Linked DNA regions of Homo sapiens: regions 1, 3, 4 and 5 are each linked to region 2. Evidence: promoter capture Hi-C in 16 types of primary human blood cells and fetal thymus (Javierre and others, 2016). All regions are on one chromosome and are shown on one strand. Each heading gives the region's core, a stretch centred on a gene start or on the middle of the fragment in contact. The rest is flanking DNA. Distances are from core to core; before and after follow the strand shown.

Region 1 (5,406 bases), core at 1,577-4,076, 700 kb before region 2:
CCAGATTTAGCAAACAAAACTCAAGGAAGCCCAGTACATTTGAATTTCGGATAAACAACAAATAATGTATTTTATCTGGCACCCCTTGGGTTCAGCAGTCACCTCTCCCCTTCACCAGGACATCAGAATTCTGGTCTGATCTCAGCCACTAACTGTGTGGACTTTGAGTTAGTCCACACTTGGGGAGCTTGGTTTTCTCATAAAAGTGTGGGATTAAGTGACTGTAATGTCTCTGCCAGGTTGCAGGGTCTGTGATCCGATGTTCTCACGAAACTCCTCCCACATAGCTCTTTTTATTATTTCATTATAGAATGATACCTGAATGTGTTCTTACAAAAGATTCAAACAATGGAGAAGTATACAAAACAAAATTTGAAGCTGCCCACCACCTCCGCGCTTCCTTCCTCAGAGGTAATCACCTTCAGCAGTTAGATGGGCATATTTGTGGTCCTTTCTACATTTGTGGTACTAGATTTGGGCACATGCCCTTTTATATAAAGGTAAATAGGATCATTCTCTGACCCAATTTGTGGGGATTCCAATTCACGGTCTCCCAGGAATCTGTATTCATAGAAATCTTCCCAGGAGGTTCTGATGTCCAGCCAGGTTTGGGAACCTCTGCTACTGGGAATCCAGCCCTCTGTCTTTTGCCACAAGCAAACAGTGCTACCTGTAAAGCCAGACCCTCCTTCTGGCTGCTAGAGAGCGCCATGCCTGCTCATAGTAGGCAGGAAACAGAAATCCAGGCAGGCATCCTCCGCCCTGCCACTGTGGGGCGGACTCCACTGGTCCTGCAGTAGACGTGCTCCTGTCCGTACTTGGCCTGGGGATCACTTTCTTCGCTTGTCTACCTGGACAGCTGACTACCTGACTGACTTCTTCTAATGCCGGCAGCCTGGGACCCCTCAGTCATACGAAAGATTAATGTCTGCCAGGCTACCTTGAGTCCAGCCAACCCCTCTGTCCAGCCTCTTCTGACCTACCTCAGCCTTGGCTCCCCAGAATCTGGCATGAAGTCAGGGCTCGGTCTAGCAGTGACACCCCACAGTTTAGCCCTCTCCCTTCTTTCCTATCTCCATCTTGGCCAACCACCCGATACCAGCTCACTCTCAGGCTCGTCAGTTGCAGCATAACAAGTTGGGCTTTCTGCTCACATGAATATGTGCCAAGGACAAAGTCCTCACTGAGCGCTTAGACTTGTCCAAGCCAGAGCCCACCCTACAGACCCCTCTACGAGTGAGGACAATACACTCTCAGCTGAGACCCTCCCATCTGGCTCCTGGTCACTTCTGCCTGTCTCACCAGCTCCACCACGGCTGCCATTCCTGGGCTGAATGAGTCCTAGTGTCTACTCCCGAGACACTGCAGCCACTGGTCCTCTAGGCAAGGCTAACCTCCCCTGTCATCCACGAGAGATGTAGGGAAAAGAAAGAGAGATCAGACTGTTACTGTGTCTATGTAGAAAGGGAAGACATAAGAGACTCCATTTTGGAAAAGACCTGTACTTTAAACAATTGCTTTGCTGAGATGTTGTTAATTTGTAGCTTTGCCCCAGACACTTTGCCCCAGCTACTTTGACCCAACCTGGAGCTCACAAAAACATGTGTTGTATGAAATCGAGGTTTAAGGGATCTAGGGCTGCGCAGGACATGCCTTGTTAACAAAATGTTTACAAGCAGTATACTTGGTAAAAGTCATCGCCATTCTCTAGTCTCAATAAACCAAGGGCACAGTGCACCTCTGCCCTTGAAAGCGGGGTATTGTCTCCCCATGTGATAGTCTGAAATATGGCCTCGTGGGATGAGAAAGACCTGACCGTCCCCCAGCCCGACACCCGTAAAGGGTCTGTGCTGAGGTGGATTAGTAAAAGAGGAAAGCCTCTTGCAGTTGAGATAGAGGAAGACCACTGTCCCCTGCCTGCCCCTGGGAACTGAATGTCTCGGTATAAAACCCGATTGTACATTTGTTCAATTCTGAGATAGGAGAAAAACTGCCCTGTGGTGGGAGGCAAGATATGTTTGCAGCAATGCTGCCTTGTTATTCTTTACTCCACTGAGATATTTGGGTGGAGAGAAACATAAATCTGGCCTACGTGCACATCCAGGCATAGTACCTTCCCTTGAACTTAATTATGACATAGATTCTTTTGCTCACATGTTTGTTGCTGACCTTCTCCTTATTATCACCCTGCTCTCCTACTACATTCCTTTTTGCTGAAATAATGAAAATAATAATCAATAAAAACTGAGTGAACTCAGAGACCGGTGCCGATGCAGGTCCTTGGTGTGCTGAGTGCCGGTCCCCTGGGCCCACTGTTGTTTCTCTATACTTTGTCTCTGTGTCTTATTTCTTTTCTCAGTCTCTCATCCCACCTGACTAGAAATACCCACAGGTGTGGAGGGGCAGGCCACCCCTTCATCTCTGGGGTGAACTAAGCTTTCTTGTTACACCACCTGCCCACTGTGTCTCACTCAAAGCTCTAAGCTAACTTTCCATGGGTGAGTTCATGCCCTGTTCATCTCACCAAAACAATACACGCTCATCATAGAAAAACTGGAAAATATAGCTAAACCAAGAACAACAGAATACATTTAAAAAATACTCTATCACCCTGAAATAACCAGTGTGTTATTTATGTATATTTATAATTTTACTTGAGATTTATATTGCAGATCACAAAGTGGTGTCTTCTAGTTAATTCAGCCTGTACACATGTTTTAAGTCATTTTGGTTTGAATAATTTTGGACACGATATTTGGTGTTCAGTTCACCACACTCCCCCCACCACTCCTTATTTTATTACACAAATCCCATCTCCTTCATTTACATGTTATCCTTGAAGCCATCTACATTTGCAATGCCTGCATTATATATATATATATAAAATGCATAAATGTATTTTTTAATCAAAATGGAATCCTACTGCTTATTCTATTTTTGTCACATACTTTTTTGTGTGTAACAGTGTACCATGAACACCTTTCCATATCAGTAGTCAACTACAACTTCATTTTTAATGGCTGGGAAGTTTTCCATTAAAAAGATGGATCATAATTTATTCAGCCAAACCCTACTGTTGAACATTTAAATTGCTTGCAATTTTTCCTGCTTCAGTGAACATCCCTGTAGCTAGAGCTTTGCACACTTCCTTAATTAGTTCCCTAGGATGAATTCCAAAAAGTGGAATTGCTGGGTCAAAGGGTATTCGCAGTTTTAAAAGCTTTTAACATGTGTGGCCAAATGGAGTGCTCAGAGTTTTACAATGACAGAGGCCCTTGAGAGTTTCCTGTGACCGCTGTCAAGGTGGACCTTCCAGACATTAACAGCATCCCGGGGAACATCCCATCACTCCTCTCTTAACGGTGTCTAAAGTCAACTTACCCAAAAGGGGGGCTTTTCTCCAGTAACCATCCCGGACCTCCACGTAATCATACCAGCACAGTCGGCTTTTAAACAAATCCATGGATGTGAAGTTTAATACGATCTGTAAAGAATTACCATAAAGTGAGTTTTGGCAGCAAAGCCTGAGGAGTTTGGGAAGATATATCTTGCATACTGGTGTTCTCACGTTACCCTTTAGCATGCAGAACTTTCAGACCACGGTAGGAGTGTTGTCTCAAAAGCATGCTCACAGGAAACCTAAGGACATTAAATAATAAACCTTAAGCAGGATGGGGAGTAAACAGAAGGAGATGGGTCCTTCGGTTCTGTCTGGGGAATCACTTGAGCTTTTGAAGTCACTAGGTGGTTTACAGAAAGCGAGATGCATTAAAAAGACTGGCCAGGGCGCATGGAGACGGAGGATTTGGAAGGAGGTAAGGGGTCAGCGAAGTTCAGAGATACAAGAAGATCTTATAACATCATCAATCATTCCAAAGGGTCTGGGGTTAGCCCGAGTGCATCTGAACATCTCTGCGATCAACCTCCCCTCAGCCATGACCTCACTCTCCTGAGGTGTGGTGTGTCTAATGACCTTCCTACAGTTAGTCCATTCTTTCATTCACTCCACCATTGTTTGTTGACCACCTTCTGAGTGTCAGCCTGTGCTGGCCAATTGAGATAGAAAGATCAGTAAGACAGGGTCCTTTGCCCTTGGGGAGCCCAGAGAAGGGGGGAAAGGCAGATGGGCCAAGCCAATGAGAACACTATGGTATAAACACTGAAAAGAGAGGGATTGTCATGAGGAGCATCTTGGCAGCCCTGTCTGGACATCCCTGAGGTCAGGTAGTGGATGCTCCCATGGCCAAATAGGTGACTACTTAGTAGGGGGAAGGGGAGGGCTGGGTGGTCCCAGGGGCTGGGCCTCAGCACACAGGTGCTGTACCTGTGAACTGGCTCTGGTCCCCCTGCAGCCCACCAGCTCGGGGCTCCCCTGGCAGATGGCCCAGAGCAGAGTTCAGATTTCCCCTGGCCTTTCACCCCCACGCAAGTTCCACTAAACCAGGTGCCTGTGGCTCCTCCCACTGTCCTGAGGTGCAGTGGCTTGTCTGGCCCAGGCTCACCTTTCCTCATGCCCCACACACCTGCTCCATCACGTCTCCACTCTTCCTCATCTCCAGCCCTGACCCAGCCCCTGCACCCCTGACTCTATTCGTTTTCCAACCCCGGAGGACTTTGCTCTCAGCAGTTCCTCTCTCTCCAGCATCTCCACTCACTGCCCCTCCACTAGCCACTTCTTTATATTCAAACAGCCCCAGGGGCCCTCTAGCTCTAAGTAAACCCTTAGGCTGGAAGGCTTCCTCAAAGGTTCCCATTCCCTCCCCACCAAATCTAAAGGACTGTTATTTGGCCTTGTGCCCCATGACCCCTCTGCCCAGAGCTTATCCTTTCTGGTTTTCACCACACTGGCCTATCTTCTCCCCACTGCTCTTGCTCCTCTGCCCTTCCCGCTCCCTACTAGGTGAGAGCACCTCCAAACAAAGCATTTCCTTTCCAGCCTCCTCCACTGTAGGAGATGCCATTGCCCCGATGGTCAAGGAGCCAAGCTTTGGTATTATCTTTCCTTCATCCTTACTGTTGATCCCCCATATCTGTTCAGCATCCATGCTGCAGCTCTTTTTAAGATATCCGCATCCCTCCCCTCTAACCCCATCTCGCTCCTCCTGCCTCACCCCCTCCTGGATTGCTCCCACACGATTCCTGGACTCCTCCCTGCTGTGGCCCCATTTTTTCTACACACTGGGGCTTCTAGATCAATATTCCACTCATATCTCATGTTTACCAGACCCCTCCCAATCTTCCACCCATATATCATGTTGACCAAACCCCTCAGGAAACCTCAGTGGCTCTCTGTGCCCCCATCTCATGAATTAAATTCTGCTTACTTTCCACACCCCCAGAGCCTGTCCTGTGCAACCTGTTTCCCAGTGTTCCCTGACAGTCCCATGTCAGAGAAACCCTTCCCAG
Region 2 (4,983 bases), core at 1,097-3,596:
GGCCAGGAGTTCAAGTCCAGCCTGGCCAACATGGTGAAACGCTGTCTCTACAAAAAATACAAAAAAAAGAAAAAAAATTAGCCAGGCATGGTGGCACACACCTGTAATCCCAGCTACTCAGGAGGCTGAAGCAGGAGAATCACTTTAACCCGGGAGGCAGAGGCTGCAGTGAGCCAAGTCGCATCACTGCACTACAGCCTGGGCAACAGCGAGACTCTGTCTCAAAAAAAAAAAAATTGAAACAATAATTGTTATTCATTCATTAAAATAATGACCATAACAATAAAACCAATAATAAAAGTCAGTTCATTTTCATTAGCATCACACATCGGCAATTTTAAGGCATGTCAGTGATACAATACTGCTCCCCACCAAGGAGGGGCTCCCACTGCCACCCGTTGGTACGCCGCTGCCTCGGCCTTAGGTGACCACAAGGGCAAATGCCCTGGAAGCCACAGGGCTCCCTGGCTTGCTCAGGGAGGGGAGGAAAAGTGCTGCTGCGTATTTCTAGGGACGGTGCAGACGCAGGCCGGTTTGGGCCCCATGGGTATAGTCTGCCCACCTACAAGAGCAGAAAACAGTAAGGGAATGGACCTCTCTGTGCATCAATGAAGCTGAACCCCTTCCTGCTGGCACTGAGCCCTTAACGTTGCCAGTGTCCCCAAGGGGACTGTGGAGGCCACCCAGCACTAGGGAGGGAGAGTAAATCCCAAAGGCACATTCAGAAGCCTCGCAAGGAGACCAGATACAGGTGGAAGAGAGTCATAGGCCCCCCTGGGGACACAGATGGAGTGTCTGCAGAGGAGAATAGAGAGGGAGTCACCAGAACCAGCTTCCTGGCTCCTCTTCCTATTGGATGGAGCGCTCCTCCCCAGACAACCCAGAACACTGCTGCACTCACGCCCAGGACAACCTCTCGGGGAGCAGAAGGCTGTACTTACCTCTCCCCTCCTGGAAGCAAAACTTCTCTAGTTTCTCTTGCCAGCCAAAGAACCCCTAGTGGCGGAGTGCTCACACAAAGGAAATCAGACCCTGGGGGAATTTAAACATGAACATGTTCAACCCTCTCTTCTGGCAGATGACAAGAAAGCCCAGAGAGGTCAAGTGCCTTCTCTGGACTCACGCAGCTTGTTAGCTGGTGCTCTTCCCATCGCCCCCGCCCACCTTGCTGCTGGGAGCAATGTCGTGTCACAGAGCCATTGCAGTCAGCAGGTTATGGGTTTAGGGCCTGCCCTCCTCTGATAGCTGTGCCAGGGAGGATGTGCTGCACATGCCTCCTGGCCTCAGACAGCAGCCTGGACTGGCTATGAGCAACCAAAGCATGGCCCCTGTACCAGGCAGCACCAGCCCTGCTCTGGGGGTGGATATGAGTTTGCATGTCTGGTGTGTTGAGCCACAACGCCTCTTGAGTCACAGTCAGTAAAACTAAATATCTCTCCCATGGTCTGATCACTGTTGGGACTGGCCTGGACTATCATTAAATTCAGGAGTGTCATGGATCTTGGAAAATACTAATTGCTCCTAACCCAGCTGGGATCCTGCCCTCAGGGTGATCCCTATTTTCCTGGGATCAAATGTCACTTCTCAAAGGGTGGTCGTGGACCGGCAGGGTCAGCCTCACCTGGCAGCTTGGACGAGCAGAATCAGGCTCCTCCTGAACCTACTGAATCAGGACCTGCATTGACACAAGATCCCAGGGTGATGTAGATGCACGTTAAAACCTGTGAGGTGGCCGGGCGCGGTGGCTTACGCCTGTAATCCCAGCACTTTGGGAGGCTGAGGCAGGTAGATCACCTGAGGTCAGGAGTTCAAGACCAGCCTGGCCAACGTGGTGAAACCCTGTCTCTACTAAAAATACAAAAATTCCCAAGCATGGCGGCGAGCACCTGTAGTCCCAGCTACTTAGGAGGCTGAAGCAGGAGAGTCGCTTGAATCCAGGAGGCGGAGGTTGCAATGAGCCAAGATTGCACCATTACACTCCAGTCTGGGCAACAGAATGAGTAAGACTCCGTCAAAAAAAAAAAAAAAAGAAAGAAAGAAAGAAAAAAGAAAAAAAAAAGCTGTGAGGCACTGCGGGGAGGCACTGCAGGGACACGCAAAGGTGACAACCTTAGAGACTGCCAAAGCTCACTCTGGACACCATCAGAGGCCATCGCAGACTGTCCTTCACAGGATGTGTGTGTGACATGCTGCCATGATCACTCTGTAATAGTGTCACGGGGTGGATGGGGGAGGCCTGGCTCAGCAGCAGCTCAGGGTACTGAGTCGTAGATGACAGCAAGCTCAATGTGCACTGTTGTGTGATGTCACAGTGCAGCCACCAGGTTGGGAGACCTGCTTATATACAGTGTCCAGGGAGCACAAGGCCTGGGGGCCCACAAACCTGGGTCTGTATGCCCACTCTTCATTAGCAGCTCCAGGACCAAGTGCGGTCAGTTTTCTGGAACTCGTTTCCATATCTCCACTGTGATGTAAGGATGTGCATGGATCCTAAATGTGAGAAGCTGGCAATCACCAGGTCCCTGGCAAGTGCTCAGAGTCTGAGCTACCATCAAAATCAAGGGCACAGGGGGAAGCTAACTGCTTCTCTGAATACTCTAAGGGAGGCAGATCTAGGCCAGGTGACCAGGGTTTACAAGTCCCAGGACAGCAGGTTGGGCTTGGTGCACGGAAGAACTGATGAGCAGCTTCACTCATGCAGGTGAGACCGTATGGGCAGCTCTCCAATAGCAAGCGTTCAGCAGGGATAGGTGCGAGTACATCAGGGAGTCCAAGAGAGGGCTGGCTGCATGCCTGGGAGGGGCAATGAGATGGGGAGTCGGGTGCTTCCTCATTTCTGCTGCTGTAAGGTAACGCCACTGGCCTTCTCCAAGATCCAAACAGGGTCTCTTGCTTCCCCTCTCTTTGCAGCAGGACAGATCAGGACAAAGCCATGCTGGAGTTGGGGCCACACATCTGCTGAAAACCCCCAACACTCTTTTTCCCAGCAGCAGCTTCCAAGCAATTCCTGAGGCCCTCCCACCGGCTAACCAGAAAGGAACCCACCATTGGTCTCCTTAGTAACGACTTCCAAGGCCCCTTGGTGAGGATTTTAACAAGCTTCCAGCTCTCTCCCCAAACTGCCTAATTTTTACAACAATCAGACTCCTTTTTTCTTCTCTAAACGTTTATTTTAGCACATCTGAAAAGCGCACAGTGTGATTTCCAGACCCAAGTTAGACAGCGATTTCTTCAAAGTGCAACGCCCTCAATTAATGAACCCTCTGGGAATGAAGTACCTTCTAACAAAAACATTGTTCAAAATAAAGCTGGAAAAAAACCTCACACAGCCCCTAGGACAGAGATGTGAGTGTTGTTGCCCAGTCACAACCATGACAAGGCGATGTGGTTACACGGTAGGGTCAGAGGTAGGCAGTCTCCAGCCATTCCCAGCAGGTGACCTTGGCCAGTTACTTGACCTTCAACTTGGTTTCCTTGTCTGCAAGATGAGGATGATGACAGGCAACTCCCACGGCGGGAGTGCAGACTGCAGAACAGTCACTCATGCAGTAACTACCTGCTGAGCACCCCTGTGCATCAGGTGGCCTTGTTCCTGCGGCGGGGATACAGCAAGGAACACAGCCCTGCCCCGTGGAGCTCATATTCTGTGGGGTAGCGGGTGGAGGTGAGTACTACAGAGAAGAATCAAGCAGGTGAGGGGTAAAAGCACTGGGGGTGCCGAGTGGGAGTTACCTTTTTCTAGGTGGCAGGGAAGGCCTTTGATCAAAGACCTAAAGGAAGAAGGGAGTGAGCCCCATGGGTGTCTGGGAGAAGGAGTATTCTAGGCACAGAGAACAGTCAGTGCCAAGGTCCAGAAGCAGGAATATGCTTAGTGTTCATGGAAAAGCAAGGAGTCCAGGGTCGCTGGAGTGAGAAAGGGGAAAAGTAGTCAAGGGTAGGGACTTTGGATATCACTGTGATGAAGCAGTAGCCATCAGAGGGTTCCAAACAGAAGAGTGACCTACATTTAGAAAATGATGCACGTAAGGCAGTAGGAACATGCCTTGCATGTAGTAAGTGTTCAATTAACATCAGCAACTGTTATACACCTCAGTTTCTATCCGGTCACTCCACACACAAGCAAATGTACGTGCCCACTCAGAACCCTTCAATAACACCCCTCTGCCTACTGACACATCCCAGACCCTTCACTCTTGGATGCAAGCCCCTGTAACAAGGCCCAATCCACACCTCCAGCCCCCACCCCACCACACGTGCCCAGCTACAGCCTCCCTCTCCCTGAATCCACACATCTTCCCTCGTCTTTGCTTTCACCTGTGCAAGTTCCTTCCTCCTCTCAGCACCTCCTGAAGTCCTACCCAACGTCACAACCCATCTCAAAGGCCACCTTCTCCATGAATTCATCCCTCATGCATCCCCAGAGGGATGTCATGCCTCCCACGGATGGCCAAGCATGCTGGGTCACTCATGGATATATCTCATCCTTGACGCTGGTCTCATCTCCCCAGGAAACCCCACCTCCCACCCCTGTCACCACCCGTGAGATGGTGACCTACCAAGCTTATCTGCGGGGCTTAGCCCCGGTGCTGAGTAGGCCACTTTTAAATTCAGCTGAATAACACCAGTAAATGCACGACTCCTATTTGGCCCCCTCCATGTGACAGAGACCTGGCCGATACTCAGCCAAGATGCTGAGGGGGCAGAGCTGGCTTCTTCCAGTGTCCTAGGGACCAGGATAATTATAAATAGAAAGAAGGGGGGCATGCTCCTTCCTTAACATAAAAAAGTCAGCAGGAAAAATAAATCTGATGACCACTCAGTTCCATTCACCACCGTCTCTGAACATAGATGCAGGTAAGTTATTTGACAAGATAAAAACAGGTCATGATAAAGAAGATGAGGAGATTCAAAAACACACACAAAAAGGCTGAGCGGGGCTGCCTGGCCACACTCAAGCTCTTGCGTCTGCAGAAAGGGCACCTT
Region 3 (5,330 bases), core at 2,484-4,983, 670 kb before region 2:
TCTCTCTCTCATTATTTCTACATGGTTGTTCCTCCAGATAAACTCTAGTATCATTTGTTCAAGTTCTAAAAATATGTATGCATACATACACATGTACGTATATATCTATAAATGTTGGTGTTTAAATCAGAAAGGCATGAATGTACAGCTTATTTTAGGGAGTTCTGACATCTTTACTATGTTGAGTATCCCTACATCAGGAAGCAATATGCTTTCTATTTTTACTTTTTTTTTTTAGGTTCCTTGGAGTTTTAGCATTTTCTTCCTATAGGTCTGGCACATTTATGTTTAGTCTTAGATATAGTATCTATTATGTTTCTATTAAAGTTGTGATTTTTTCCCATCATAAAAGTGTATCAAACTATTTCATGTATAAAGAAAAGCAGTCACCTATTCTTGTTAATTAATTAATTTTGTGGTCACTTAATAGAGTCTCCTTGTGTTTCTAACAGCTTTTCAATTGATATTCTGGGGTTTCTAGGCACACAGTCACTTTACCTCCCATCAGTGCAAACATTGCCTTGTTCCTGCCAATATTCACAGTTTTTCTTTCTTTCTCTTGTCTAATTTATATTAATTAGCAATTCCAAAACAATGCTAAATAATTGTGGTAACCCTAAACATCTTAAACTTGTTCATGATTTTAACTAAAATTAAATGCTTCTAGAAGTATCATCGATAAACATGATATTGGCTTTTGGTTGGAAGTTATTTATATAAATGTATATTTATACTTACATATATATAATGCAAGAATCTATCCTTGACATCTATTTCTGTGCTACCTTGGTTACTTTTTTAAAACAAAAACTGCATGTTGTATTGTACAGGTGCCTTTTAGCATCTATTGAGATATGAATATAGCTTCTCTTCTTTGACCAATCAATCTTGAGAATAGATTTCCTAATGTTGAACTAATCTTGTATTCCCTAGATAAATGTATTTGGCAGTCTCCTCTTCTTTTCTTCTGCTGCCGAATTCTATGTGCTAACATTTTATTTAGGATTTTGCATGGCTATTCACATGTGAGATGAGTCTATAATTTTTTCTTTCTTATCTTTTTTATCATGTTTTCCTTTCTTTCTCTATTTATTTGGTGCCATCCTTTTCATTTCAAGGTAGCAATGCCATAACAGTTCCTCAAAAGTAATTTGAAAGCGTTCATCTTTCTCTATGCTCTAAAAAGTTTAAGTATACCAGAATAATCTGTTTTTGAAGTTTTGAAAGAATTCACCTGTGAAACTCTGGGTCTGGTGCTTTGTGGGAGATGGCTTTTTCCCTCCGTTCTTCAATTTCATTCAAAGTTCTTGGTCTGTACCAGTACTTTATTTTTACCTTGAAGACTTTCACATTATCCACATTTTCACACTTCTTGCCCTAGAGTTTTGCAAACTACTCCTTTGTGATTCTGCTGAATCTGTGGCTATTTCTCCCATTTTCATTTCTAATCTTATGTATTTCTATGTAATCATATTTTGTCTCAATTAAACTAACAAGTGGTTTATCTGTTGTTTTCTGTTTGTTTGTTTATTCAAATAATTTACTCTTGAATTTGTTAGCTCTGTAATGTTTCACCTTGTCTGTTTCCTTGTGCTCTCCTTAGGTTTATTTTGTTGTGGTGATGGTGGTGGGTTGTAAGTATTTATTTTTACTAGCTTCTTTGAATTGAATATTTCATTGTCACTATTGTCAACGGGTGATGTGGATACTTAAGTCTGTGGGCTTTTGTCCAGACATAGCTTTAGCTATATCTCTTTTATTTTGAACCATAGGGCTTTCATTACCTAGACATTCTGCAATTTTAATCTTGCTGTTTTTATGACCTAAGAGCCATAAAAATGGAAGCATGGGGGGACTTTTAACTTACCAGCTAATGTTTATTCTATTTTTGTTATTATGTTATGTCCAGTTTCACTGCTTTGCAATCAGAAAATATCTTAATGCTATTTCTGCCTTTAAGAATTTGTTAAGATGTTCTTAATGCTTAATAGATGGGCCATTTAAAAAAATGTGTTATGAGGTTATAGAATCTGATAGACCTATAGAATCAACTCTATTAACTGTATTTTTCAAATCCTCTGTGAATCTCTACTTATTTTTTGGTCAACGTGACACTGACTTACTTGGGCTGACAGAAATGAATTAAGTCTCGTGCTACTGAGCATTTCTGTCAATTTCCCCTTGAATTCCCTGGGGCTTGTTTTATGACTCTTGATGCTATGCTATTTGGTGCATGAAGACTTATGACAGTTATATTCTCACTGTCCCTTATACCCTTTCTCATTATAAAGTGTCTCAGCTTTTAACATTTTCTGACTTTAAAAACAAAAACAACAAAACAATGAAAACCTAGTCAATGACTAAAATTGTGATCCCAGCTTTCTTTTTGTTAGCATTTACCTGTATGGCTTCTTTCCTTTTACTTTTAAACCTCTCTAGGTTGTTTTATTCAGTAATCATCTTATGTATAGACCATGTAGTTGGGTTTGGTTTTTTTTGTTGTTGTTGTTTTGTTTTGTTTTCTTTCTGAGATGCAGTTTTGCTCTTGTTGCCCAGGCTGGAGTGCAATGGCGGGATCTCGGCTCACTGCAATCTCTGCCTCCCAGCTCCAAGCGATTCTCCTGTCTCAGCCTCCCAGGTAGCTGGGATTACAGGCATGTGCCACCACACCTGGCTAATTTTGTATTTTTAGTAGAGATGGGGTTTCACCATTGTTGGTCAGGCTGGTCTGGAACTCCCGACCTAAGGTGATCTGCCCACCTCAGCCTCCCAAACTGCTGGGATTACAGGCGTGACTCACCGCTCCTGGCCGGGTTTGGGTTTTTGATCCAACATGAGAAGCTTTTCAGTAGGAAAGTATATCATACATATTTATTGACATAACAGATAACTTTAGTCATAAGCCAGTCATTTTATTACATATTATGTTTTCTGAAGGAAGTTTGTAAACCTGTAGAATCCCTCAAATTAAATGCAAAATTTTACATACATATTCATCTATTCTTGAAGAAGGAAAGCCCACCGCTTCATCAGATTCTAAATGGGGACACAAACCCCAAGAGGTTAAGAACCACTGCCTTAAGTCTTCACATGACACACCACCAGTTCCTTCTGTTGCTCTTCTAGTGCCAGTACCCCTGGTCTTCATGGAGTCTCCTGGAATCTTCCTCTTGGCCCATCAGCTTTGCCACTGGATTGTAATTTCACCAAGGGCAGAAAGTTTCTAGCAAACCCTGGACTCCTCTAAATAACAGCTCATTGGAAATACTTAGGTTTACAGAGAAAATTCAACACTCATGAGCCATCCGACTGATTCTGCAGAGGTGGCCTCGCTTTCGTTTACTTACCCACAGGTTCTGTAACTGAATACAATAAAGCTTTCCTCATCCGTCCTTTCTATGAAGGTCACACAGGTGTGCTTCTCCCAGTGTCTCATGGCCTGCTTAAAAATGGCCCTCTGGCTCCCTGAAACAACAGGGCAAGCACTCGACTTCAATGATGGGTCCATATTTTCTTTAGATGCTTTTTTTTTTCTTTCAAGACGGAGTTTTGCCTTTGTTGCCCAGGCTGGAGTGCAATAGTGCGATCTCGGCTCACTGCAACTTCTGCCTCCTGGGTTCAAGCGATTCTCCTGCCTCAGCCTCCCCAGTAGCTGAAATTATAGGCATGTGCCACCACGCCCGGCTAATTTTGTATTTTTAGTAGAGATGGGGTTTCTCCATGTTGGTCAGGCTAGTCTTGACTCCTGACCTCAGGTGATCCGCCAGCCTCAGCCTCCCAAAGTGCTGGGATTACATGCATGAGCCACGGCACCCAGCCTCCTTAGATGCTTTAAAGCATGCTGAGTTAAGACAAAGGATGTTCCAACAATTAAAAAAAAAGATTGTTAATAATACTGTATTGTTTACTTGAAATTTGATAAAAGAACAGATTTTGTGTCCTCACCAGCCCCCAATGTAAGCATGGGTGGTGATGGATGTGCTAATTAATTTGATTATGGTGATCGAGACATAATATATCAAATCTTCATGTTGTATACCTTGAATATATACAATTTTTATTTGTCAATTAAATATTTTCAAAAAAAAAAAAAGCTTGTTCAGAATAGAAATACTCCAGGAATTTTCAGGAATCAGGATTTCCCTTGCTAAAAACACAACGTAACTTTTCTGAGCTGCCAAAACCTAGAGAGTAGGAGTTTGTGGATTGGAAGGGAGGGTAAAAATAGATTTTCAAAATATCCTGGGCTTCCCAAATTTTCCTTTGTATTGAAAGTATTTTCCAAACTTTTACAAAACCTTATCCAGGTTTTTCGATTTGGAAACTGCAGGCTTTTGAAGTAGGGGGGAGTCAACTCCAGCTCACCAGCACTGCACTTCGCCCCCTCATTTTCTTTTAGACCTGTAGGGGGGTGCTCCCATGCACTTTAAAATTTCTATTTGCATGTACATCTGTGTACTTTTGCACGGGGTTTCAGTGTCTTGTGGGGAATCCTTGAGCCTAATTTTTCTTCCAGGCCTTTGAAAATAGGTGAACTTCATACTTTCTCTGAACCTGTCTTGGTATTTCCTTGAGTGGAAATTTGCTGAATAATAAAACTCCAGGCTGACAGTTACGTATAGTCAGTCAGTTCTTTTCAAAATCTAGAAGGAAGACTGTTTAAATTTTCCTAGAAGCAATGAGAAGGATCTAGGAAAAAATAGTTGTCTGGGAAGTATGAAGGATGGTGGGAGTTGGAGGTCTGAGTTCTACAGGGCCCTCATTGCAAAACAAAAACAAAAATTACAAGCAAAACAAAACAGCTGACATCACTTGGATGTTTGTCCCCTTCAGATCTCGTTTTGAAACATAATCCCAGTGTTGGAGGTGGGCCTGGTGGGAGGTGTTTGGGTCATGGGGATGGGTCCCTCAAGAAGGGCTTAGTGCCATCCCCTTGGTGAATGAGCTCTCGCTCTGAGTTCATGAGAGATTTGGTTGTTTAAAAGTGTGTGGTACCTACCCCACCTCTCTCTTGCTCCCTCCCACCATGTGATGTTCTGGCTTCCTGTTGCCTTCCGCCATGATTGCAAGCTTCCTGAGGCCTCACCAGGAGCAGATATGCTGCCACCATGCTTCTCAGACAGCCTACAGAGCCGTGAGCCAAAACAAACTTCTTTTCCTTAGAAACTACCCAGCCTCAGGTATTCCTTTAGAGCAACACAAATGGACTAGCACAACAGCACTGGGGGAGGCTCCCATCATTGTCTGCAGGATGTGGGGATGGTATCATATTGTTGTCCCCAAAAACATTCATATAGAATAAAGAATAACAGCTGGGCATGGTGATTCAT
Region 4 (5,474 bases), core at 875-3,374, 740 kb before region 2:
AATGTTCTGATGCTGCTGCTTCATCAGCCTGGTCCTGACTGAGGATGATATGGAAGAGTTTCCAGATGACCAGAAATGAATGTGTAGTGTGGACAAGAAATAAATCTTATATAAAGCCCCTGAGATTTGGGGGATAGTTGTTGCAGCATAAGCTAGCCCATGCTGACTGATATACCAGCATTCATGCCCTTGCACCACTGGGACTCACCGTTAGCTATAGAAGATAAACCTTGCTGAAGATCTATAGCCTGCTTTCTTTCTTTCTGTCTGTCTTTCTTTCTGTCTTTCTTCTCTTTCTTTCCTTTCTTTCTTTCTTCCTTTCTTTCTCCTTTTTTGTTCTTTCTTCTTTCATTCTTTCTTTTTCTTTGTCTCTTTTTCTCTTTCTTTCTTTTTCTCTCTTTTTCTATCATCTATCTATCTACCTATCTACCTATATCATCTATTTATCATCTATCAATTATTTATCTATCAACTCTATGTAATTGGTGACTGCAAATGGGCAGAAAAGTCAAAATCTTGAGACTATGTATAGCACAAAACAACTGCATGTGTTAAAGGATTTTGCACTGAGAGCAATCTGAGTGCTTCTAAAAACACAGTTGTATAATTACCGTTCTGTAATATAACCCACAAAACTCCAAACATACCCCAAAGCCTCTTCATCTAATCAACCTGAAGAGGGTGTCCCTTATCAGATGGAGTCCCTGTCTTTGTGTTAGAAATAACCCTGTATCAGTCAGGTTCCCTGCAGGAGACAAGTAATGTACACTCATTACTACATTTGAAAAGTGTTTATTAAAATGACTACCTATAAAGGTTTCCCTTGAGGGAAGTGCAGTACCCCAAGGTTAGACAAGCAGGGTGTCATTACCACCCCTAAGCCTGAAGTGGAAAGTGGAAGGAGGAACTTCCAGGGCCCCCAGTGGGGAGGCCTGGAACACTCCCAGTAGTGTTCACCTACTGGGAGCCATAACCTTCAGTCTCGGGTGTCAGATGTAGTCCTCAGACAAATGTCCAGATAGAGGAGGGTGGCGATGGGAGCTGAGGGGCAAATGGAAGATGTCTACCACATCTGGATGGTTTCGGCAGCAGACATCTTCACAATTAGGTTGTAAGATTTTCAGCTTGTTTTGGTGTAAGAAAGGGAACAAATTTGAAAGCCATCTTTAGCTTTGCTCATGACTTTCTGGGTCCATTAGTGAACTCTGTTCTGGAGTACTTGGATACTAACCAGAGAGTGGAAGGCTGTAGAGAAGGGCCCCCTTTTAGTACTCTCTCCCAAGCTCTTGTGATATTGGAGAAAATTAGCACTAAAAGGACCCATCTGGTCTGAATTAGCAATACAAACCCAAGACACATCAATAAATCCACATTCTTTAATGAAACCATCCGTTCTAGGTAGAGACATATGTTAGGTCCTCTCCACTTTCTCTTTGAAACTGACATCATTTCATGAAATGTAAAATTACACAAAATAAAAAATACCCATATGTTTACATATAATACTTTAAACAATTTTCCTTTTTAAAAATAAAATTTTAGGCATTTGGTATTACTCTTCAGAAGTTCGGTCTACAAAAGAAACTTTAAAAACATCTGCTAAAGCCAAGGGAACATTTGTTCACAAATGGAACGCTAACAATACCAATCTGAAAGCTATCAAAGGGACCCAATCAATAGAAAATCTCAATGTGAATTTGCTAGTTAGCAGGATTTTACAAATTATTTAAATCAGCTGAGCAATTCATGAGTGATATGAAACTTTACAGCAGGGGTGTCCCATCTTTTGGCTTCCCTGGGCCACATTGGAAGAAGAATTATCTTGGGCCACACATAAAATACACTAACGATAGCTGACGAGAAAAAAAAAAATCACAGAAAGAATCTTACAATGTTTTTTAAAAAGTTTACGAATTTGTGTCGGGCCATATTCAAAGCCGTCCTGGGCCAAGGGTTGGACAAGCTTGCTTTAGAGAGAAATTGTAAAGTAGAAATAAAAAGGAAACTTCACCTTACAGGTAAATACCTCTAAATATTTACCTTAGAGGAAAATAGAGGGAATAGTGGATCAATGAACAGCCTCTCTTTCTCTGTTTGAAGAAATTCCACTGGCTAAAGTTAATTCCAGATTTTTTCCTGCCCTGCAATCCAGGCTTAGCTTTTGCTAGACCGGGTTACACCAGAACGGAGCCAGGCTAAAAACCCAGACCCCAAATCCTTCATTAGCCTGTTGTCCTAAGACAATTCTCTGAACTAAAACTATTCTTGCAACTCACTGTCATCCCCAAAGCTTGGTACCCAATTAAAGCACAAAGCAGGCTGCAGTGATATCTTCTACCTCTGCTGTTTGCTTCTGGGGATGCTTGCAGGCAGGTCACTGATAATTGGAAGCACCAAGGCAGAGGCCTGGGACTTTCTGCTGAATGGACTCTCTCTAGTGAAGCCAGCCTCTAGTTTCTTTGCAAGAACCTGTGTCATGCCTAAGTCCCCACAAGTGTGGGCTTCCAGAGGAGCGGCCCAGCTAGCCCCAGCTGAATCAGAGCTTCTCTTTTCTGTGGATACGTCACACAGAAGGCCTAAATAAAGGTTTTTCATAAGAGTCCCATTGTTGCAAATTGGCCATATGGTGACAATTGTTGAAGCTGTGTGTTTTTGAAAATGTTCATACTAAAGAGATAAAAAGAAGTATCATTGTTTCACCGTCCTGCTGAGCAGCACCAACTCTGTTTCTGACTCCCTCCCACTTTTCTATGAAATTTGTTAATCTTGCTTAGACTTCTAAAGGTTAAAACTGCAGAATTTTTATTTCCTTGGAGAAAGAACCATAACACCCATCTTAGGTTTCCCAGTTCCAGTTTCAACTCTCATAGACAAGATGAGACCAAATAAAACCTCAGAAAATACAAAAATCAGATAAATGGAATCTACCCTAACAGGCAGGTGGGATTGGAGCCATGAGGTCAGCTGCTCCATTTGCTGTATCAAAGCGCACGCTGGGCAGGGTCTGCCATATGCACAATATGAGCGTGTAGGCTGAGCCTCAGTCCAGGGCCGAGAAAGGCCAAAACAGAGCTTGGTGAAAGGAGAGGCAGGAAATGGAGAGCCAGTCCTGCAGGGCCCACAGTAAAGCGAGGACCAGGGGTTGGCATTTTCCACACTGCATTGATTAAGGCTTTGACAGCTGATCTTTTACATACATACATATATACAGACATATATTATTAATAATACTTTAATTTTTTTCTGTTTTAAGGAAAAAATATTCCCATGCATTTCTCTGACCTTTCTTTGTATCATTCTAGTTTTTGCTCCCAGCAATCACTTTAATGAGACACAGTCCTCTGGTGCCACATTCTGATCTGTAAAAAATATAACCTTTCACCTTTTACATATACTTTGTTTAAAATGATGCTGATTCATCCCAAAGGAATTCCGGTGCATGGGAGCTATCTTGGCTCTAACCAAAAACACTCATGTGCCGCCCTGCGTCCAACAACAACCAAACAGGACTTACAGTTATGTAAACATTATTTAAAAATTATTCCAACATAAATACTCTTTTAAAGCTAACATACCACAGCTTTTAGCTCATAATGCCCATAGATGCCTTAATGAAATGCCATTCAAAACTACCTCACTGTTTAAATTATACCTTGAGGTGCTAAAATTATGTAAACATCATCCTCTACACTTCTCTAGAACAAGTGCCAAGTGTTATGAATTCTGTTTGCAAGTTGGTGATTGAATACTAGTTAATCAGAGCAAAGTTACCAACGCACTCTTTAACCTGATTGGCTACAGGAAGCTAGTCACTGATTGACTTGTTCCACAAGGCGATGATTCTTACATAACTTATAATTAACCAGTCTTCAACAGTGTTCACCCCATAAGGGACCTGAATTGGTCCCTCATAAGAGGTCTTTGCACATTTTGCAAATGCAGTTTGAATTGGATGTCAAGGAGTCCAGGTGTGCCACGGCAAGTGCCTCCAAAGCTAAAAGAAGAAATGTTCTTTGAAGCCCATGGAATTCCAAGCACAGGTGGAGTCTTCTCAAAGTCAATGAATGAAAAAAATATCAGGACGAGCCACAATATTGTCTTCTCAGCAGACAGGACTCTCGCCAGCAAATGTTCTGCTGTATTCATAATGGATGCCTTAGCCCCCACTGCAATTAGGGAGGGGGGGAAACCAAAGGGACAAGGAGAGTGAATGACTCTGAGAAATGGCTTTGTGGTCTCCTAACTTCATGACAATGATTCTTATACTCGAAACTCCCTCTGTGCTCACTGCTCACTGTGATGCCTTTTTTTAGTCCTGACATCCATCCATATTTTCAGGTTTCTTGGTTGACATGTCCCTGGCAGAGAGAAAGAAAATGATTCCAGCCAAAGCTGTGGGCCACACATTAGTCTCGGCCAAGTTTTCATCCCTTATGCCCAACATGGACAGAAGACAGCCTGGCACCTTTGCAAGCAAGTCCAGATTAGAGGAACGGCCAACCCCAAGGCTGACCTTTTGCCACATAGGAGCAAGGGACAAGGAGAATGGTATGAAGAAGCATAGCCGGAATGGTCAGTGACTTCAATCCTAATCTTTAACACTTTAACAGTTCATGAATGATAACATTGCAGACAGAAGCAAAAGAACATTTTTCTCTCCACCTTGTTGGCCAAACTTACAAGACTTTCATTCAAATATATACCTCTAAGGCTGGATTCTGAGTTTTTGTTTGAGAAAAATACTGTACACTGTTTTAGGGCAGATTTTCAAGGTGCTATTGTTGTTAAAAACAAAACAAAACAAAAAAAATTCTCAGTTTCTGTCTTTCAAGAACATCAGCACTATTTCTTCATGTGCAGGGCATCCTGGAACTTGGTGCTGGTGTATCGGGCATGAAAGCCTTTCTTGTTGATGGTGTCATCTGTGCGGAATCGAATCATCAGGGAATCACCTGCAGAGTAGATTTCTTCTAATGGCTGAGGAAAGGAGAAAGGGAAACGAGAAGGACTTTAGCTGTGATTGGAGTTGAAAATGAGGAGGATGGGACAGGATCTTATGCAAGGACACAGGATGTGTCTCTGGTACCAGAGACTCTGAAGGGCATCCAAACAAGCTCCTTTTCAAAAGAAAACATTGCAAATTCTGCTCCAGGGAGCTTTGCAGGCCCTGCTCTTCCAAAGATGATCCTAGGTGCATAGCTCATATAGAATCTATTATTTATTAAGTATGCAGGTGGGTCAGGTGCTGCACTAGGCAATTCCAGATCTTATGTAAACTTTACAGCAACCTTATAAGGCAGGTACTATCCCCATTTTTCACTTCAGGAAACTGAGACTCAAGTTCTCGCAGGTAGGCGGGACCCAAGCTTAGGTCCTTCTGACAGTAAAGGATGCACCATGAATCACCGAGCTCCAGGGTCACCATTATGATGTGTCTCCCAGGAGACCTGAAACAAAGACCATGGTTCAGGCCT
Region 5 (5,215 bases), core at 462-2,961, 720 kb before region 2:
CAAGCGATTCTCCTGCCTCAGCCTCCCGAGTAGCTGGGACTACACATGCGCCAGCGCGCCCAGCTTATTTTTTGCATTTTTAGTAGAGACGGGGTTTCACCACGTTGGGCAGGATGGTCTCGATCTCTTGACCTCGTGATCCACCCGCCTTGGCCTCCCAAAGTGCTGGAATTACAGGCATGAGCCACCATGCCCGGCCATGAATTTCAAGATGATGACAACAGAACCTTAAATTAGTGTGGGCCCTTCCGAGAACAGGCTCTGTGCTATTGCACAGGCCACAGGCCCATGGAGCTGGCCCCTGGTGACAAGAGCCCTAATGGAAGGGAAGGAGAGAGTGCTATGGGAACACTGGTAAAAGAACAATCAATGTGCTAAGAGGGTGCTACGGTTTGAATGGGTCCCCCAAAGTTCATGTGTTATAAACTTAATCCCCAATGCAACAGTGTTGAGAGATGAGGCCCTTAAATGTGATTAGGTCATGAGAGCTCATTATTGCAGGAGTGGCGTCCTGACAAAGGATGAGTTTGACCCCCTTGCCGCTCTTTCTCACCCATGTGGTGCCTTTCACCTTGTTATGACACAGCAAGAAGGCATTTGCCAGATGTTCCCCCTTGATTTTGGACTTCCCAGCCTCCAGATTCATAAGCCAAATACATTTCTGTTCACTATAAATTACCTAGTCTGTGGTACTCTGTCATAGCAGCACAAAATGGACTAAGATAGAGGAATAAGACGAAGCCAGACAAAATGGACTAAGATAGAGGAATAAGACGAAGCCAGAGAATGTTACAGAAAGTGGCATTGTGGGTCTTCAGGTTGAAGTAGGAGTTTCCTAAGGAGGGAGGGAAGAAGGATATTCCAGGGAGAGGGAACGCCACAGGCAGAGGGTATGAAGACAGAATGGGATGGGGGTTTAGGAGTAGAAGGTGATGGTGTGGGGGAACAGTGGGGGGATTATTCGTGATCAGAGCACAGGGCACCTGCAGAGGGAATGTGGCTGGCAGAACAGGTGGGCCAAGGCAGTGTCCAGCACCACATGCCACGCTAAGGAGAATGGGCTTTTTCTACAGCTGCTGTACTGGCCCTGAGGGTTCATGGCCTTCAGTTTGAGAAGTAGGGTCCAATGTGCTGCTGTAGTGGGTTTAGTAGTGTCTTCCCAAAATTCCTGTTCATGTGTGATATGGTTTGGCAGTGTCCCTACCCAAATCTCATCTTGAATTGTAGCTCCCATAATTCCCACGTGTTGTGGGAGGAACCCGGTGGGAGAGAATTGAATCATGGAGGCGGTTTCCCCCATACTGTTCTTGTGGTGGTGAATAAGTCTCACGAGATCTGATGATTTTATAAGGGGTTTCCCCCTTCACTTGGCTCTCATTCTGTATTGTCTGCAGCCATGTAAGACATGCCTTTGCCTTCTGCCATGATTGTGAGGCCTCCCCAGCCATGTGAAACTGTAAGTCCATTAAACCTCTTTTTCTTCATTTTTTATTTTTTATTTTTTGCCCCGAGATGGAGTCTTGCTCTGTCACCCAGGCTGGAATGCCATGGCACCATCTTGGCTCACTGCAACCTCCACCTCCTGTGTTCAAGCGATTCTCCTGCTTCAGCCTCACGAGTAGCTGGGATTACAGGCACACACCACCACGCCCGGCTAATTTTTTTTTTTTTTTTTGTATTTTTAGTAGAGACGGCGTTTCACCATGTTGGCCAGGCTGGTCTAGAACTCCTGACCTAGTGATCTGCCCGCCTCGGCCTCCCAAAGTGCTGGGATTACAGGCATGAGCCACCACGCCCGGCCTAAACCTCTTTTTCTTTATCAATTACTCAGTCTCAGGTATGTTGTGAAAACAGACTAATACAATGTGGAACCTTAGAATGTGATCTTACTTGGAAATAGTGTCTCTGCAGAACTATTAGTTAAGAATCTTGAGATGAAATCATCTTGGATTTAGGATCAACCCTAAATCCAATGACTGGAGTCCTTCTAGGAAAAGGAGGGGACACAGAGACCCAGAGAAGAAGGAAGGGCATGTGAAGATGGAGACAGAGATCAGGATGATGCAGCTACAAGGCAAGGAATGCCAAGGACTGCTGGGAGCCACCACAGGCTAGGAAGAGGCAGGGAGGGATTCTACCCTAGAACTTTCCGAGGCAGCATGGCCCTGCGAACACCTGGATTTTGGAATTCTGGCCCCCAGAACTGTAAGAATAAGATTCTGTTGTGTTAAACCAACCAGTTTGTGGTAATTTGTTATGGCAGCCCTAGGAAACTAACACAGCCACCAATAGATATATAAAAGCCCTGGATCTGGCACGCCCCCTCCAAGGCAGCCATACCTGGAGGGATGCAGGAGCAAGCAAAGAGAGAGAGGAGGGGGCCAGGGACCCCAGAGCCTGGAGTCTGCAAAGCCGCCTCACTCGCGCTGCATCAGCCTCACCTCTGAACCCGCATACCTGAGAAGAAGTGGGCCCTGAAGCCGCGCTTGGAGACGGTGTTGTCGGACTTGAACTCCACGCGCATGTTGTTGCTCTGCGAGGTGATGACCTCCGGCGTCTCAGAGCCGCAGAACCTGCCGTGCAGCTTGGCGTCGGGGGACAGGCCGCTGCGCACCTCTACAAAGTCGTACTTACAGACCTGCAAGGGAGCATGATGGGGAGCTTCCCAGAGTCCCTGTCCCCACCCCAGACCCCCAGCACACTGCTGCACCTGCTTCCTGAGCGCCTCACCCTACCGTGTGTGGCGGGGGAGGGTCCCTTGACTCTTGCTACGCCGGTTATTTGAATGAGCTCCAGAGGGCACAGGGGGACCCCTGGCTCTCCCACTGAGGCTCTGTGGGGGTGCCATCGCCTGGCACAAGAGCACAGGGCTCCCAAACCTGCATCCCCGTAATTGTAGCCTTGCTTTAATTTATTTTATATATTAGGCTTCCACATGAAATTTTACTTGAAGAAAGGGCCCCACTGCTAGAAGGAGAAGAAAAATAAGGAGAAGAGGATGAGGGAGAAGCAAGAGGAAGAGGAGGAGGAAAATCCTGCAAACCACCGACAGAATCTGACTCCATTTTCAGGCAGGGAAACAAGCTCAGAGGGGGAAAGACATTTGTCTGAAGTCACATAGCTCAGCAGTGGTGGAGCTAGGACTAGAATTCATGTTCCTTGCTGTAGCAATGATTTTTCTCAAAAAGAACTTCACTGCTAAGGGGTCTTATCAATTGCTTTCAAGGATTATTTTTTTCTGCACAATATTCACTTTGGGGTGACACCCTCATGGGCGCCATGGCCTCCATGCATTGGGGTCATCAGCATTGAGGTCTCCTTCCAGTACCCCAAAGGCCTGATCAGGTGAGAGCTACACCAGTACTATTCTCAAGGTGAGACCCCCAGCTCAGCTGGGGTGGGGAGGGGAGTCTCAGGAATGGCTTGTGTGCCCCAGGGTGTCCTTCCAGCCTAAGGTGCAGACGTAGGCATGCCTGACTAGCACTCCAGCTGTAGGGTGCTGCCTGGACCTCAACTGACTTGATCATCCATGATCACTGCCCGAAAGAGGAAACAGGCTGTCTGTAGCATCCTTGTCCCTAGCTGATTCTCACCCCCTTTATTCGCCTCAGCTGCACACCAGCTCCCCAGACTCACAGCCCAGTCCTGACACCTCCCACCCCCAATATCTGCCTCTTCCACTCTTGTCCTGATTCTCCTTGGATGTATCAGCGACAAGAGGGCCGGAGGTGCTCTATCTGCAGAGGGCGTGCGGCTGAAACTGCTGGAGAAAACATTCCCCCAGATTCTGCTAGCGCAGGTCCTAAGACTGTCCAAAGCTTCAGTCAACACAAGCCATCTCCCTGCCCTCCCAGCCCCTCACTGGTTTCCAGCTCTGAGTCACCCCTCAATACAGTCCCCAATCAATTAGAGCATGGAGACATACGTCATTGCCTTCCAGTTCAAACACTTCAAACTGAAGGGAGATCCGGTACTGAGCGGGGGCCACCACCTGCCAGACACAGTTTTTGTTTGTGGGATACTCCTTCGGCCACCCAGGGCTGGTGATGGTTCCATTCAGCTTGGTAATGAAACCGCCACAGGCCACTGCACGGGGGAAACAGAAACAGGATTCATTTGGCTTTGGCTCCAGGTGACTGTGATTTCCCACCAGGAGCAATAGAGCCTTGCTGTTCTGTAATAATTTTAAAATGTTAGACAATTTGAACTGATTAATTCAGTGTCCTTTGTTCAAAACTAATGGTTTCAACTGAATATTTGAAGGAACAAAATTGGGGATAAATCTTTACTGCTTTTAAAAACAATGAATGCATTTGTGCTTTCCTTTCACCCAGTGGCAGAGCTGGGGGCTCCCTATGGCTTGGGCCAAAGGAGAATTAGAAATGTTTGCAGCAAGCTACTCACCATACCAAGCTTGCATGAACAAGCGGATTCATGCACGTGGACAAGGAAGATGGAACACAAGCCAGGTAGAAATAGGATGGATGAAAAGTGCTATCGGTTGAGTCACTGGAGTGCTCACAGTTTTTCTTTGCTTTTGTTTCCTACTTTAATAATCATGTCAATTTCACACAATCATAGAAGAAAAACCATGGCCTTGATTTCAGTCTCTAGGGCAGAGTCTATGTAATTTGGGCAGTTTTCTGACATTTGTGACAGCTGTCAGGCTGTTTCTCCTTCTAGGAAGTAGGTGGGTCTTCCACCATGTCTGCCCATTGCCCATCGTTCCTACACAGCCAGCTGGTTGCCCCATCTCTGCCCCACTTCCCCAAAGACTTGTCCCATATACCCTCTCATTCTAGCTTGGCAGGTCCCACACCAACCTTCACACATCTTCTTATCGGCGGCCAGCTCGTAGCCAGGGTCACAGGCACACTTGTAGCTGCCCAGCGTGTTCACACAGCGATGCTCGCACCCGCCGTGATCTGGCCAGGAACACTCATCCACCTCTGGTGGGGAAGGAAGGTGACCCCGGTTACATTGTCAGGAAGCCTCCTGGCTGTTCCCAACCCTTGCATATCCCAGTGTCACCAGCAAGTGTCCTCTAATAAACAGGAGCCACTCCTGGTGACCACCTCCCAAAGAGTGCCATGTCCACCTCTGAAAACCAGGCAGCAGCTACAGTGAAGGCAGGACACTGACAACACGAGCAGGAACACCTTGTTAGCTGGGGTAGGCTCTGCCAAGAGAAGGCCAGGCCTGGAGAAGTGAATTC

What was found. The method cuts DNA at HindIII sites, captures the fragments that hold promoters and counts their contacts. A CHiCAGO score of 5 or more calls a contact.
Region 1: a contact is called between a fragment that was not itself captured here and the fragment with the promoter of SLIT1-AS1 in region 2, in 2 of 17 cell types (erythroblasts and naive B cells). The highest score is 5.7, in erythroblasts.
Region 3: a contact is called between a fragment that was not itself captured here and the fragment with the promoter of SLIT1-AS1 in region 2, in 1 of 17 cell types (erythroblasts). The highest score is 5.8, in erythroblasts.
Region 4: a contact is called between a fragment that was not itself captured here and the fragment with the promoter of SLIT1-AS1 in region 2, in 1 of 17 cell types (erythroblasts). The highest score is 5.5, in erythroblasts.
Region 5: a contact is called between a fragment that was not itself captured here and the fragment with the promoter of SLIT1-AS1 in region 2, in 1 of 17 cell types (naive B cells). The highest score is 5.2, in naive B cells.

The regions. Positions count from the first base shown.
Region 1 is chr10:96,401,851-96,407,256 of GRCh38, forward strand. It overlaps TLL2 (tolloid like 2), which reads right to left. Exons shown (of 21, transcript NM_012465.4): 10 at 3,382-3,484. Among named protein-coding and RNA genes, the nearest start is that of OPALIN, 46 kb to the left of the region's middle. The HindIII fragment of the contact is 784 bases long and covers 2,435-3,218 here.
Region 2 is chr10:97,100,410-97,105,392 of GRCh38, forward strand. SLIT1-AS1 (SLIT1 antisense RNA 1) reads left to right here and starts at 2,347. Exons shown (of 3, transcript NR_038330.1): 1 at 2,347-2,701; 2 at 2,911-3,082; 3 at 3,177-3,338. All of the region lies in intron 4 of SLIT1 (slit guidance ligand 1), which reads right to left. RefSeq lists enhancers at 1-856, 857-1,719. The HindIII fragment of the contact is 6,968 bases long and covers 1-3,097 here.
Region 3 is chr10:96,425,284-96,430,613 of GRCh38, forward strand. It overlaps TLL2 (tolloid like 2), which reads right to left. Exons shown (of 21, transcript NM_012465.4): 5 at 3,348-3,465. Among named protein-coding and RNA genes, the nearest start is that of OPALIN, 69 kb to the left of the region's middle. The HindIII fragment of the contact is 717 bases long and covers 3,376-4,092 here.
Region 4 is chr10:96,363,246-96,368,719 of GRCh38, forward strand. TLL2 (tolloid like 2) reads right to left here. Exons shown (of 21, transcript NM_012465.4): 21 at 1,363-4,977. The coding sequence ends at 4,843. Among named protein-coding and RNA genes, the nearest start is that of OPALIN, 7.0 kb to the left of the region's middle. The HindIII fragment of the contact is 327 bases long and covers 1,962-2,288 here.
Region 5 is chr10:96,382,130-96,387,344 of GRCh38, forward strand. TLL2 (tolloid like 2) reads right to left here. Exons shown (of 21, transcript NM_012465.4): 14 at 4,824-4,949; 15 at 3,926-4,086; 16 at 2,458-2,638. Among named protein-coding and RNA genes, the nearest start is that of OPALIN, 26 kb to the left of the region's middle. The HindIII fragment of the contact is 4,209 bases long and covers 1-3,816 here.